Linked DNA regions of Homo sapiens: all the other regions are linked to region 3. The links are contacts of gene promoters, found by promoter capture Hi-C in human tissues and cell types (Jung and others, 2019). All regions are on one chromosome and are shown on one strand. The core of a region is centred on a gene start or on the middle of the fragment in contact, and the rest is flanking DNA. Distances in the headings are between cores, read along the strand shown. Region 1 overlaps TLN2 (talin 2). Region 2 overlaps TLN2 (talin 2). Region 3 holds the start of TLN2 (talin 2). Region 4 holds the start of MIR190A (microRNA 190a). Region 5 overlaps TLN2 (talin 2).

Region 1 (2,700 bases), core at 87-2,586, 270 kb after region 3:
GACATCATTATTGCCATTGTGTTTATTGATCTTCTGTGAGGCTCTCATTTCCTCTCACCCTTTCTGTGTTTTTTTTTTCTTACTCCCTAATTTGATTTGCAGTTATATACTTCTTTTCAAGAGACTTTAGTAGAAAAATCCCAAGGATTTATTATTATGTGCAAAATACTCTCCCAGGTACTGTGGGAGATGTGGGAGACACGTTTTGTGTACTCAGGTTGCTTATAATCTAGAGACGCTGGTGATAAGGACTTAACCCACAATGTGTTTGAAGCCCAGAGAGGAGTGTTGGAGTGAGAGCTGTGAAAGTGTAGAGGGGAGTGGTCGAATCCTGTGCACATAGATGTGAGGACAGGGTTCTCAGAATGGCTGAGATTTAAGCTGGCCCATGGCACGGTTCTGCCAGCCCCCCTTTAGTGTTGTCTCCGCTACTCCCTCCATACTTTCATTTTCTTCCTCTTTTCTACTTGAGATCAGAGGTAACTTACTATGCTCATAGCCTCAAGATCACTTTATTAGGTGAGACTGGAGTATCTGCCCTCCACCCTGCCACCGGAGAGGCAGCATATTATACATTCATTGTAGCACATGTCACCGTGGGTTGGCTGGCACTGTCCCCTGCTCCACAGAGGGTGTACTGGGCCATGGGAATGCGTCAGTGGAGAGAACGTGTCACTCCCCGAAGCCTCTGATGCTTTTCCTTCCTCTTGTGTTTCAGGCATGGGAATTTTCTCCCTCATTTCCATTTTGGCTGGTCCTTTGGTAGATGTGAAATTATTTTGCAAAGCTTAAAAACCATAGTTCTAAAATAAGAAATAACTATAACTACTATAACTAAGTATCAGAGATACAGAAATCTGCATCACACTGCTCTTTTGGTAAATTCCCTTTAATTAACAGGAAAAATAAACACAGTTCTCTTATATGTCTTGTTGTGTTGCAGTAAATTGGCTGGATCACAGCCGAACATTCAGAGAACAAGGAGTAGATGAAAACGAAACGTTGCTGCTTAGACGGAAGTTCTTTTACTCTGATCAGAATGTAGATTCGAGAGACCCCGTGCAGCTGAACTTGCTTTATGTTCAGGTACAGTATTTACTGCTCAGACACTGAGGTTGGTGAGATTGCAGGAAGCTCCTGGCTGTATCTTGTGGCGAGCAGGAGGGCGGCGCTGGCTTCTGCCACATTTATGGCGTCGTTTCCAGCAGGCGCTGCTCGTGGGTCCCCGCATGTGTTTGGTTGTGGTGCAGGTTGATATTCTGGATGAGCAGCTGACCATCCGGAGTAGGGCCTCCCTATGGCTTCCCAGATTGTGTCCTGGTAGCCAACACTGTGTCCCTCTCTGCCGGGCTTTGAGGGACAGTTGTATTTCACTTAACTGGCTCACCATTTCAAGTGCACTAAAGGTTTCTTAGCTGGCATCTTAGAATGCAAGAGAATGTTGGTCAGAAATCAGGACTCTCATTAACTGGAAGATATCCTCTCAATAACCTTTCATGTCTTTACCCTTAACTAATTGTTAAAACTGACAAGTCATTTAACATATCTGAGTTGCGGTTTCCCAGTATGTAAGATGTGGATTGCACTAGATTGTCCCCAAGGTTTCTTGTGGCTCAAGGAAAACATCATCCATCTTTGTCCTCTCCTACCAGCTTCCTTTCTTCCTTTCCTTCCCTCCCTCCCTTTCCTCTCGTTATTTATCCATCTATCTGCCCATAGAAATAATGTAGGGGTTGGCAAACTACAGTCATGCCTTTTGCCTGTACTTGTCAATAAAGTTGTATTGGAACACAGCTTATGTATTCAAGTATTACATATTGATAAATCCCCTTGAGGGTTATGTAATTGTTACACATATCTTCTGTGGCTGTTCTCGCATTCTGGTGACAGAACTCAGTGACAGAGACTGTGTGGCCCAGGAGGTTTGAAATGTTTACTATTTGGCCTTTAGAGAAGTTTCCTGACCCCTGAGTTAGTGGACGGAAGGATGGCATGGAAAGAGGGCTGAGAGGAAAGAAGTGGGGAGGCCAAAAGGAGAGAGATAGCAGGGCAGTGAAAAGATGCTTGTTGGCTTAAGGCTTAGAGTGATAGCTTGGAGTGTCCATCTTAGGGTGATCTGGGGGTCATTTAGAGAAAGGAAAGGCTGAAAAGGTGGGGGGGGGAAGCAACAGCAGTGATGGATGGAGAAACTGGGAGGAGGAGGAGTTCAGACACAACAAGCTCCCCATTTTAGGATGCATTCGCTTGTCATTTCCCCTGCTGTCTTGAGTATTGAGTTCTTGTCTGTGTGTGTGTGTGCCTATCGCCTTTCTTTCTCTTCCTCTATTACATTGGTTTTTATCTGGGGATGGGGGTTGGGTTGATTTTACCTCTAGATATTTGATTAGCTAGCTTTGTGATTTAGGATTGTAAAAAGTACACTGTATTTGTCTTTTGGCCTCTTTGAAGCTGATCATTTCATATGAGTTTCCTTTGCCTCTTTTTATAATCACTTCTGCCTTTCTGGACTGTCATCAGACTTTGCTTTTGCTGTACTGGACACCTCTAATGTTTTCCATCTACAGGCCATTTTGGACAAAAGTTTGTTTTTCTTTTGCCTTAGTTTTCTCCCATGCGGTGATCATCCACTGTGTCCTGCACATGTCACCGTGGGTTGGCTGGCACTGTCCCCTGCTCCACAGAGGGTGTACTGGGCCATGG
Region 2 (2,700 bases), core at 10-2,509, 340 kb after region 3:
TTCCCGAAATCTTGCCAGCTGTTGTGTAGATGATGAAATGCATATTTAGTAGAGAAAAGACTACTTTACATGTTGCGTCATCTCATACCAATAACACCCAGGAAGACATGCTGTCTAGTTGGTGTCTGAAAAACAGCCTAGAAGTAGCCCCATTTAATTTTGGCAGGCACTGGAAGGCAGTTGCATAAGTGAGCACTGCATGTATGATGCCTTAAAGATGAGAGAAGGATGATGGAAGGAACTGAAGATGGTGAAAGTAATAGGCAAAGAGTAAGTGAGAAATAAGAGGATAACGCTGAAAAGTTAGGCCAGGGTCAGATCCTAAAGGGCCTCATAAGCTAAAATAAATGAGTTATACTTTAATTGAAGAATATGTGAACATGTTTTTCATCTGTGGACACAGTTCAGATTGCTTTTTGTATAGGTCGCCCTTCCTCCTGTGTGTAGAATGGATTGGACGGAAACAAAGTGGTAGGCAAGCAGGCTGTTGCATTAATCCAGGTAAGAGATGGTAGTGTCCTACAGTGGAGACGAAGTGGTCGATTGAAGAAGCAAAAACCCAATCGTTCTTGGTGACTGGTTAGAAGTTGGTGGAGATGGTAACATGAACGGTTCCAAGTGTTTGGCCTTATAGCTGAGTGAAGAGTTGTATGAATCACTGGTGGGAACACAGGACCATTGGTAGGAGCAGGGGAGGTGAAGCTCAGGAATGCTGGGTTCGGCACTAGATATATTCCATTTGAAGTGCTTGGAGAATATGCAGTGAGAGCATCATTAGGCAGCTAAATCTTTGGCTCTGAAACTCAGTAGAGAAGGCTGGGCTGGATGATACAGATTTGAAAATTATTGGTAAAATGATAATGATTGGAAGTAGATAATTTTGCCAACAGGGAGTGGTAGAGTGAGAGACAGCTTATCAGTTGTAATCCTGAAGAACCTGGCTGGTTAGGGAGGAAACTGGCAATGGAAATCTTTGAAAGAAAGAAGAACATGGAGCTGTGGAGAGGGCAGGGAAACCAGGAGAGAGGGATGTCTCTAGAGCCATAGACACAGTTGCTGCCCAGAAAGTCATGTCAAATGGGAGACTTAAGCATCCATTAGCTTTAGGAATAAGGAGATCACTATTCTCCTTGTTGAAGGCAGTTTCAGGAAGGTTGGAGAATGGATGGGAAGCAAGGAAAGAGAGAGCGTGTGTGGAAAACTTCTCCATGGGTCTCAGTTTCCTTGTCCATAATTGAGGTGTGTGGGGTTTTCAGAAGTTGCATGTGAGCTGCCACTGGGCTGTATTCTAATGCAAGTGTGTTTCTGTTTGGCCAATGCAGTCTTCAAAATATATTTCTGTATAGCTGATTACAATTACACATAACCCTTTGTAAATACTTTGGAACAGATAAAAGATTTGTGTCATACCTGGTCTTTGTCTTCTGAGGTTGCTATGTGGCCCAATACTGTCTGGATACACAATCCACATGAATTCTGGTGAAGAATAGCAACCATTATGTAGAATGCTACTATATTTGATATCACTTGATATGCCTGTATAAGACTCTGTTACTAAGTATCATTTAAGATCCAGATGGCAAGAATACTGTGAAAGTAATCTGTGTTTTCAAAGGACTGTGGTTATTGAAACAGAAATCTGCTTTAGTATTTCACACTGGTGGTTCTGGTATTGTGGTGCACACTTTGACTACAGGAACAGTTCCATTCGGTGGGTGTTGTTTGCTTGGGGATCTGATCCTGTAGTGATGACCATTGAGAATGTTGCTGTGCGTTCAGCCATGCACCGCCATGGGTGTTCACTGGGCTTTCTGACCTCTCGTGGCCTTCTTTCGTCCTTTTGATGGTATGGGCTTCCTGTTTCCAGAAACCTCATCTCTCTCAAGAAGATCCTTGATGTGCTTTGAGATTTCACAGTGAGTCCTTAGCAGAAAACACATGGGATGGACCAGGTTGTTCTTGGAATTTAGCTCTTCGGATTTCTGCGTTTTTTTAAATTGTATGAGTCTATGAAAGGTTTTTCACTAAATGGGTTTTGCATAAACATGTCTTTTCTAATTACATATGATAAATGATTTACTCCTCCAAACTTACATATGACTCAAATAGAAGTGGATTCAAGAGTCCATATGACAAATGGGAAGACAAGAGGAGAGGTCTAGAAATCACAGCCTAGAATCTGCAATGGTCAGAGCTAGGAACTCAGCCTCTCCTAAAACCCGTGAGAAAGGGAGGCCCAGAGGGAAAAGGCAGCAGTCTAGACCACACAACTAATCAGCAGCAGAGCCAGAGCCAGATGAGGTCTTAACTACATCTGGCGCTTTTCTGAGCAACAGCATCCTTCAACCCTGTGCCAAAAGCTTAAGCGTAAAATGGAATGACCATTCTCCTCAGATTGTTTCTCTCCTTCACCTTAGCTTTGTTCACCTTTGTGCTTTCTCTTCTGGGCTTCTCCTCTGCCATAAAAAGCACTTAGTTTAAAATTCTTTTATTCTGCCAGCTGTACTCAGAAGTGCCATGGGATAAATGATAGATTGGCAGCTTTGTCATTTACCTTGATTAGATCGTAGTTTTATATCCCAGCTGTGTGATTTACTAAATATTTACATATTAGCAAGTCTGCAGCACTGCAAACCCATCTGGTTTTATGGATCTGAGGCCTTTCACACTCTATTGTATCTCAGAGCCTCACCCTCAGTG
Region 3 (2,718 bases), core at 106-2,605:
CAGCCTTATCCAATGTTCCAACGGACTTATTCAAAATAATTTCAATTTACAAAATCAATTCAGTCTCCGGTTTATGGTGACAGCAGTTTCTTTCTCTGAGAAACACTAAAAAGTTGCCAGCAGTTCCATTTGAGTAACTGAATAGATTTGCTACCTATTTCCTGGTCCATTCTGTATTGGGATGGAAATAATGTCGTCTTTCCTTTTTTTTTTCTTTTTTGAGACAGAGTCCCGCTCTGTCATCCAGGCTGGAGTGCAGTGGTAGGATCACCGCTCATGCAGCCCCCGAGCTCCCGGGCTCAAGCGATCCTCCCACCATTCTCCCCAGTAACTGGGACTACAGGCATGCGCCCCCACACCCGGCTGATTTTTAATTTTTTTTGTAGAGATAAGGTCTCGCTATATTGCCCAGGCCGATCTTAAACTCCTTGGGCTTGAGATCTTCCTGCTTTGGCCTCCCAAAGTACTAGGAGTAAAGGGGTCATGGCTAATTCTTGTTTTTTTAAATTACTAATGTGTCCCTTACAGATAAATAAAAAAGTAAAATTACTCACAATTCCACCAATCACTGAGAGACTTATTGGTGTTTATCTATCCAGTCTTTTCTGCCTTTCTCCATAAATCACAGTTTTTAAAAACGGGACCATACGGTACATAGTGTTTTGTCTCCTCACCCCCTTGAATAACCTTCACATTGTTCCATGGTATTTACAGTATTTACTAATAATGACTGTAAATGTAAGAGGTATATAACTGACTTTATTCAGGGCATGGCAAGCAGGAGTGAATTATTTTCTTCTTATCAACACAGCACGCCCCTACCGCCACTCATCCCTATAGTCGTTCTCTAAATACCTAAGTGACACCTGACCAGCAAGGTTTCAGGGTCCTTGTGCTGAAAGGAGCAGGCTCGCCTGGGGTCACGGCCCTCCGCTTCGCAGCAAGACCCCACCGCCCACCACGGCCCTCCAGTTAGCCACAGCTCGCTTCCCCCAGGACCGGGCCAGAGGTCCCGAGAGGGCACTCTGCGGACCTAGGGGCCCCAGCCTACAAGACGCTGTGTCCTGCAGTCATCCCCTTTACACAGCAGAGCCCCAATTCTGGGAAGCCGGGGTCACCCCGAGCCTCCCTTCCCCGTGACAGCTCGGCCGGTGCATCACCTTCCCTCGCGGACCCTTTCAGCATCACCACGCGTGGGAGGAAACCCAGGACGGGCGCCTGAGCCTCGGTGGCGGCCCACCCCGGTGCCGCGCGGCGCCGCGGCCGGACCGGCGCCGCGCCGTCCCCGAATGATGACGCGCTTCCTGCCCTCCCAGCGCTCTCGGGCAGTGCGCTCGCGCTCGCCCTCGGCTCTTGTTCCGCGCCCGGAGCCAGCGGCGGCGGCAGCGGCTGAGGCGGCTGCGGGAGCGGAGTGGTCGCCCAGCGCGCGGGGGGACGCGGGCTGCACTCCCGGGCAGGCGCTCTGCAATGAGACAGTAAATGCATCCCCCGGTAAGGCGCACGGCTCACTCGGGTTTTCCTCTTCCTCCAGCTGCATGCACGTTGCATGAATTTCTCGTGTCTTTTCCCTCCCCTCTCCAGAAGGAAAATGTGGGGTTTTTTTTCCTCCCTTTTGCTTCTCGTGAGTGATGCCAATGCAGGAAAAACCCGTAAAGCTCCCAGATTTGATGGTCTAGGAGGGCTTCTTGCAGGAAAATAAAAATAAAATGAAATTAATGCACCTGTCTATTGCACATGTATGTTTCACTGCACCGGACCCGGGCGCAGCGGTTTGCAAACAGCCTCGCAGTCGGCGCCAGAGAGCGGATTCCTGGCCGTGGGCAGCCGGTCCCCTCCGGGGCTCTCGCTGGGTTTCCGGTAACTGGGCTTTGAAAAGCGGCCCCGCCTGCATAGAGTGTCCCCTCGACCCCAGCCGGGCCCCCGCGCCAGAAGAGTTGGCGCTGGAGGAGCAGCTTCATTCCAGCACTGGCCGCCGGGACTCCAGCGCCACTTTGCAAACAAGTCTCCCGCCGAGGCTCTGGGCTAAGACAGCCCGCCAGTGCGGAGTTCCTTCTCCGGTGCCGGACACTCAGACCTGCCGATCCCACGACTGCCCTTTACTTGGCAATCTCGCCACGGGCGAACTGCTGGCCGCTGAGCGACGGGGGCAGTGCCGGGCCGAGAGCGGGGCCAGGCTTTGCATCCAGTGCGGCTGGCCTCACACAGACTCAGCGGCTCCCTCTCCTTCCTCGGTCCCACGAGCTGAAATTTTGCGCCCATTGGAAGCTGGAGGGACCTGGAGACGAGTATTTCGGGATCCCTGAGGGGACCGAGGAACGACTTTCGAGGGCGCCATATTTTCAGTGGGTCTTGACTGCGGAGGGGAGGGGGCGAGCAGTTTCTGGGTCCCGGGGAGAGCCCCGCGCCCCAGTCGGAGAGGCCTGATCGGTTGTCGCCGGGAAAGTTTGCGCGCCGAGGCAGGCGCGGAGGCGGCCGCACAAGGCGCGCACGACTGCTGTCCCCGCAAGGGCGCGCGGACTACAGCGCGTCGCCACGCCAGCCGGCGGGGCTTGGGAACGAGAGCCGCCGTCACGGACAGCGTGCTGGGCTTGCCGCCTTCCTCTGTCCCGCCTGGACCCGGCCTTGGGGCTCCGAGGCTCAGGGAACACGCCCCTCTTCCCCGCAGCTACCGCTGCCCGGGTGCTCAGCCGGAGCCGTGCGCTGGGCGGCGTCCCGGGG
Region 4 (2,764 bases), core at 224-2,723, 430 kb after region 3:
GCGAATTACCTTGCCAGGGTCCGACCACTGTCACTCAGCTGGGAGGGCTATGTATGGCCCTGGGTGGCAGTTTCAGTCCATACCAGCCCCTGTTTCCCACCCCATTGTCAGAGAAGGCTTGTCTAGTCCCACAAAGGCCATTTGTAGTTTATGTGTGCCCTTAGAGCTACTCCTCGAAGGAATATTATGCAGCTATAATATTATGCAGCTATGAAAAATAATGGTTGCTAGGACTGTGTAGCACGAAGAAAATGCTCATGGTATAACAGAAAGGATGCAGAATTATGTACTTATTATGATTACAACTCTAAAAACTCACAGATGAAGAAAATAAGTAGGGAATGTACAAGAATGATGATGGAATTGGGATGATGGAAGGGTCTGTGTTTTAACATTTTATAAAACAAAGGTTTAAAAAATAACAGCACCTTAAAAATTAATGACTGCTGAAGTAGGCCTGTGAGGACTCCCTACAGTACTCTAGGATCATATAGCCTTTGTGTTTACATTGAGGGTTTTTACAGGAAAGCCAAGGAGTCCTTCGGCCAAGGTCAAGGTTAACATAACTGATGATGTGAATCCTTTGTTTGAGGGTTCCTACCTTAGCTCACTCCCATCGTATTAGGAAGGGTGATGGGTACTTCTAGAATGCTTCACAATGGTCTGAAGTCTTTCTCTGCCTGATGGCCAGAGGTGGATATTATCTATGAAACTGTTTTGGAAAACCTGCAACCCAAACCATAGTTTTTGTGCCTAATAGGGCACATTGCAATAACTTTTGCATGAAATATCTTCCTTGCCTTTATAAAGGAATTTATTTCCCCAATTAAAAAACAATAACAACAATCTGCACCAAAATCAGCCAGTCTTTTGAGTTGAATCACTTCTCTCCATTCTCTCCCAAAACCTTAAAAAAATCCTCAGGGTACTGTCAGTAAACAATTGCTTATTACATCCCTATAACCCTACCCTGGTACACACACATGCCTTCAGTATAAAATGGATGTGTGTTCCTTCTGGGGAGTATTCACACTGCTTTCAGGAAGAGTTTGGGGAGAGACAGTAATTTTGTCTAAAATGCTCTGCTCACCACCGTCTCAGGTTGCCTGTTTTTAAAGGAGAATGGCTCATGGTCTTTGATGATGATTCTGGTACATTTCCACCTCAGGCTCTTAAAACTTAAGCATCACTTTTTGCCTGGGATCTCCCAGACATGCACCGTTGAATCTGCTGTTCACCTGGGGAGATGAGAATGTCAGTGAGCGCTGGTGCATGTGCTGACAGTATTGTTAATGGCGCCGTTTCCACATCTGCAGGCAGACTTGTGCTCCAAAGACAGTTATCGGAGTTGCTGCAAAAGTGACCACCCCCTGCAGCCGTAACCTTCAATACTGTGCCTAGTCTCGAGCTCAGTCAAACCTGGATGCCTTTTCTGCAGGCCTCTGTGTGATATGTTTGATATATTAGGTTGTTATTTAATCCAACTATATATCAAACATATTCCTACAGTGTCTTGCCCTGTCTCCGGGGGTTCCTAATAAAGTTTATAAGGCAACAGGAAAGAACACGTTAAAATCACAAGTAGATTTAGAAGATGGAGCACTCATTACAATTCATGTTATCTTCCATTTCTTCTTATAGCATTTGAGACCTGTATCAGTATTACTGGATTACTTGCTTATTATAGAAACAATAAGTGTTGATGTTTCATAAGAGCCTGGGGTATTCTGTGTGGCTTAGTTTTGTGCAGTGATGAATCCTTAAGGAATTCAATATGCTTGGTGGAAAAAACGGTTCCAACCCATGTCTGTGACACAGAATAAAGGTCAGGATTATAGCCTCAAACACATCTAGATTCATGTTTCATTTTGGTTCATTTTTATCCTGATCTTCAATTTAGAAGTTCATGTCAGGGTTTCAGCAAAAATTCAAGGAGCACAGATCAGTTTTCTATGACTTCCCTTTCCACTCACAGTAACAGAATGTATAAAGCAAATCCTCCATACCAGCTGCATGGATACTGAGTCAGTGAGCTTTGTACAAACCTTGGATATAGGACTAAATATATCTCATGAAGGTAATATAATGTTGACTGAACTCTTGAATTTCCTGTTATAGGTTAACTTGTCAGTGGAGGTTGGTAATATTTAGAATAAGCCAACAATCGGAAAGTAATATCATAGCCTAATTGACTGTGGCAGGAAGTTTGGGATTATGATATAGAAAACATTTTTTCTGGTACATAACAGCCTTCTTTGGTTGGTTTTGACCTCTTCCTTATAGAAAAGCCTGTGAAGTATGTGTGAGTTCATTCTGAGTTCTCTCAACAAACAAAATACTTTGTGAGCACTGCTTTCTGGAAAGAGAACTACTGTTCTCAATGTTTTGGAGGAGAAAAGGTGTAAGCAAATGGTTTAAACAGGTAGTCATGAAAGCTTCCCCTTACTGTGTCTAGAAGTCATTGCCACATTGCTTACAGGTGAATGCATAGTGACAGGGTCACCAACAGCAACATCAGAGAGGTGATGACACAGGAGAGGGTCCTGTAATGTTGGAGTCCTGGCTTCTGGAGTTACATAATGGATCCTGTCTCTGGAATCCTTCTCCATTGAGAAGCGATCTGTGTGTGTTGGCAGGTGCTCTGTCAGGCGGGTTTCAAGATGCTGCCCCAATCAGTCCCTCCTTCACACAGCTAGAGAACACCGGCTTTGGTTTTGAGTCCAGTTACATTGTTTGACTGAAATGGCAAATGGCCATGGAAAAG
Region 5 (2,700 bases), core at 159-2,658, 290 kb after region 3:
CACTGCAGACCAAATCGAATTCATGTGATAAATGCGATGCTTAATTTGTATACTTTAAGACAGGGCTTGGGATTTTACGGCCTTCAGATCTGTTTTCATGGGAATTGTCTGTTTTCCTACTAGAGGAAAAGAGGCGTGTTTTTGAAATTGTACCTGTGAGCAAGTCCAGGTTGGCCCTTGATGGGTGTCATCTTCACTTGACTGACAAATCCTCTGGTTATCTTTGTTACCCCTTTGCTTTTCCTAACCTCAGGAAAGTGATACGCTGTTTAGTTGTTTAACTATTAGGTTTCACAGATTTCTGCTTGTTTTGCTTTGACCCCTTTGGCCTCTCGCCTGGGGCCGTGGAGAAAGCTCTAACTTATAGTCAGTCTTCTTGTGTTGCTTTCTGCAAATGGAAGCAAACCAGCCGTGTTGCGGCTGCATCCAGGGACTGAAGTAGGAAGGACAAAACTGACCAGACTAAGAAGGTGTCTTTCCCCACAGCCAAAGAGAACTGCAAAAGAAGAAGTTACGTTGTCCTCTAAGATGTTTTTCTTGACCCCACTCCTCATCGGAGCAAGCTGCCTCATTTGGAGAGAGGAGATACCAAGATGTTATGCATCAGAAAGCCATATACTGCATGCTGATTAGTTATTAATACATTAACCAAACTAGCTCTCAGTTTTACATCCAAAATCGCTGGGGCCTTTGCAATGAAGAACGTATACATCAGTCACCTTGTTTTTAAGAAAAATAATTGAGAGGTCGAATCTTTTACATTTAGTGGCAGTTTTAAAAGATCAGTGAGTATTTAAATGGCACTGGTGCCATCTAGGTAACAGTGACTCCACTTACCAATATTAATAATAACAGCAATAATGTTTAGTAAACAGCCATCCATCAAGCTTATCTCATTCAAAGCTATCAACAACCCAAGGGTAAAACTACTACTACTATCTTCTTTTGTTTTTTGGAGACGGAGTCTCACTCTGTCGCCCAGGCCGGAGTGCAGTGGCGCGATCGTGGCTCATTGAAACCTCTGCCTCCTGGGTTCAAGCCATTCTCCTGCCTCACCCTCCCAAGTAGCTGGGACTACAGGCGCATGCTGCCACACCCGGCTGATTTTTTGTATTTTAGTAGAGACAGGGTTTCACCGTGTTGCCCAGGCTAGTCTTGAACTCCTGAGCTCAGGCAGTCCGCCCACCTTGGCCTCCCAAAGTGCTAGTATTACAGGCGTGAGCCACCGCACCCTATCTTCTTGTATAAGTGAGAACACAGAGCCCCAGCTAGATCCATTGATTCAGTGGGGGCCATAAGGCTAGTAACTGAAGAAGCCAGGACTTGAATTCACGTTTCCCTGATTCACAGATGGTGTTCCCAACCTCTAGCTGTACTGCCTTAGCCGGAGTGACCCCATTTGAGAGGTAGTCACCTGCTTCCACCGTTCTAGCTTCCCATCTGTGCCCTGAACACATGGGGAGATCTGCTCATTTTAGAAGGCGTGCTTTTCATTCATTATTGTGAAGGGCAACCAGTAGTAGATGAGCTCCAATGCCTTGCAGGGACAAAGATTAAACAAATTTTCATCATGTCCACTGATAATGGCATCAATTTCCATTTATTTTCTTGAGTTTCCCTGTAGTCCTTTGAGTATTAAATTCATCTCTTGCATTCAGATCATCTTCCATTAATACCATCAGGCTTCACACAGTCAGTTTCAGTGACGTGCTAAAAAACTGTTGTGCCTCTTGCATGTAGGTCAGTAAATTTAGGATGATAAAGAACATACAGAAATCTGTAATTAGGAAGAGAAGTTGAACACCAAATTGTAGAAAAAATAAATTTGTTCTTCAGTGACAATTTGGAACCTAAGAAAAATCGGTCCATGGTCACCAGGATAATTTGAGAGAGAGCAAAGATCTTCTCATTATAGCAGGGTCTTGCAGGTTTGATCAAACCAAATCTCCTTTTACACAATTATTTAAGGCAAAACAAGAACATGGTAGACTTTTTTTTCCTTTCTTCCTTCCTCCTTCCTTCTCTCTCCCTTTCCTCTCTTTCTTTCCCTTCTTTCTCTTTATTTTTTTTTAAAAATTACATCTCTTTGAAGAGAAGAAAGGATTAAGAAAGTAGGCAGCACTTGCAACTTTTTTTTTTTTTTTGAGACGGAGATTCACCCAGGCTAGAGAGCAATGGCACGATCTCGGCTCACCACAACCTCCGCCTCCTGTGTTCAAGCGATTCTCCTGCCTTAGCTTCCCGAGTAGCTAGGGTTACAGGCATGCACCACCATGCCCAGCTAATTCTGTATTTTTGATAAAGATGGGGTTTCTCCATGTTGGTCAGGCTGGTCTCGAACTCCCTACCTCAGGTCATCCTCCTGCCTTGGCCTCCCAAAGTGCTGGGATTACAGGCGTGAGCCACCACCCCTGGCCAAGCACTTGCAACTTCTATATACATATTAAATATTCAAATTGTTATTAATTTTATTTTTGTTGCTTTCTACAATGTTAATAGCACATTGCTCACTCCAGTGTTTTGCTCAGTGGGCCCATTAGTATGACATTTTATTTTATAATTGTTTTTAATATAATTTATGTGACCATAGTTTGCCTTATTTTAAAAGTGGTATAGCTAAAAAATTCAGGAATGAGTCAATATTAAGAATTAATGAACCTGAATCACATCAAGACTTTAAATAAGATGATATCATATAAC

What was found. The method cuts DNA at HindIII sites, captures the fragments that hold promoters and counts their contacts. A contact is called where the count stands out against the background at its distance.
Region 1: a contact is called between a fragment that was not itself captured here and the fragment with the promoter of TLN2 in region 3, in 4 of the 25 tissues and cell types used here (bladder, hippocampus, mesenchymal stem cells and 1 more).
Region 2: a contact is called between a fragment that was not itself captured here and the fragment with the promoter of TLN2 in region 3, in 1 of the 25 tissues and cell types used here (heart left ventricle).
Region 4: a fragment that was not itself captured here is called in contact with the fragment with the promoter of TLN2 in region 3 in 1 of the 25 tissues and cell types used here (hippocampus).
Region 5: a fragment that was not itself captured here is called in contact with the fragment with the promoter of TLN2 in region 3 in 2 of the 25 tissues and cell types used here (aorta and thymus).

The regions. Positions count from the first base shown.
Region 1 is chr15:62,655,001-62,657,700 of GRCh38, forward strand. TLN2 (talin 2) reads left to right here. Exons shown (of 59, transcript NM_015059.3): 8 at 944-1,086. Among named protein-coding and RNA genes, the nearest start is that of MGC15885, 11 kb to the left of the region's middle. The HindIII fragment of the contact is 3,891 bases long and covers 1-2,700 here.
Region 2 is chr15:62,732,176-62,734,875 of GRCh38, forward strand. The region is part of intron 28 of TLN2 (talin 2); the gene reads left to right. Among named protein-coding and RNA genes, the nearest start is that of MGC15885, 88 kb to the left of the region's middle. The HindIII fragment of the contact is 4,474 bases long and covers 1-2,700 here.
Region 3 is chr15:62,389,195-62,391,912 of GRCh38, forward strand. It overlaps TLN2 (talin 2), which reads left to right and starts at 1,356. Exons shown (of 59, transcript NM_015059.3): 1 at 1,356-1,491. RefSeq lists enhancers at 776-845, 1,764-2,378 and silencers at 1,012-1,208, 1,256-1,585. The HindIII fragment of the contact is 23,885 bases long and covers 1-2,718 here.
Region 4 is chr15:62,822,524-62,825,287 of GRCh38, forward strand. The region is part of intron 54 of TLN2 (talin 2); the gene reads left to right. It overlaps MIR190A (microRNA 190a), which reads left to right and starts at 1,434; the gene lies at 1,434-1,518. The HindIII fragment of the contact is 5,416 bases long and covers 1-2,764 here.
Region 5 is chr15:62,675,678-62,678,377 of GRCh38, forward strand. The region is part of intron 11 of TLN2 (talin 2); the gene reads left to right. The region is part of intron 3 of LOC105370855 (a long non-coding RNA gene); the gene reads right to left. Among named protein-coding and RNA genes, the nearest start is that of MGC15885, 32 kb to the left of the region's middle. The HindIII fragment of the contact is 4,628 bases long and covers 1-2,700 here.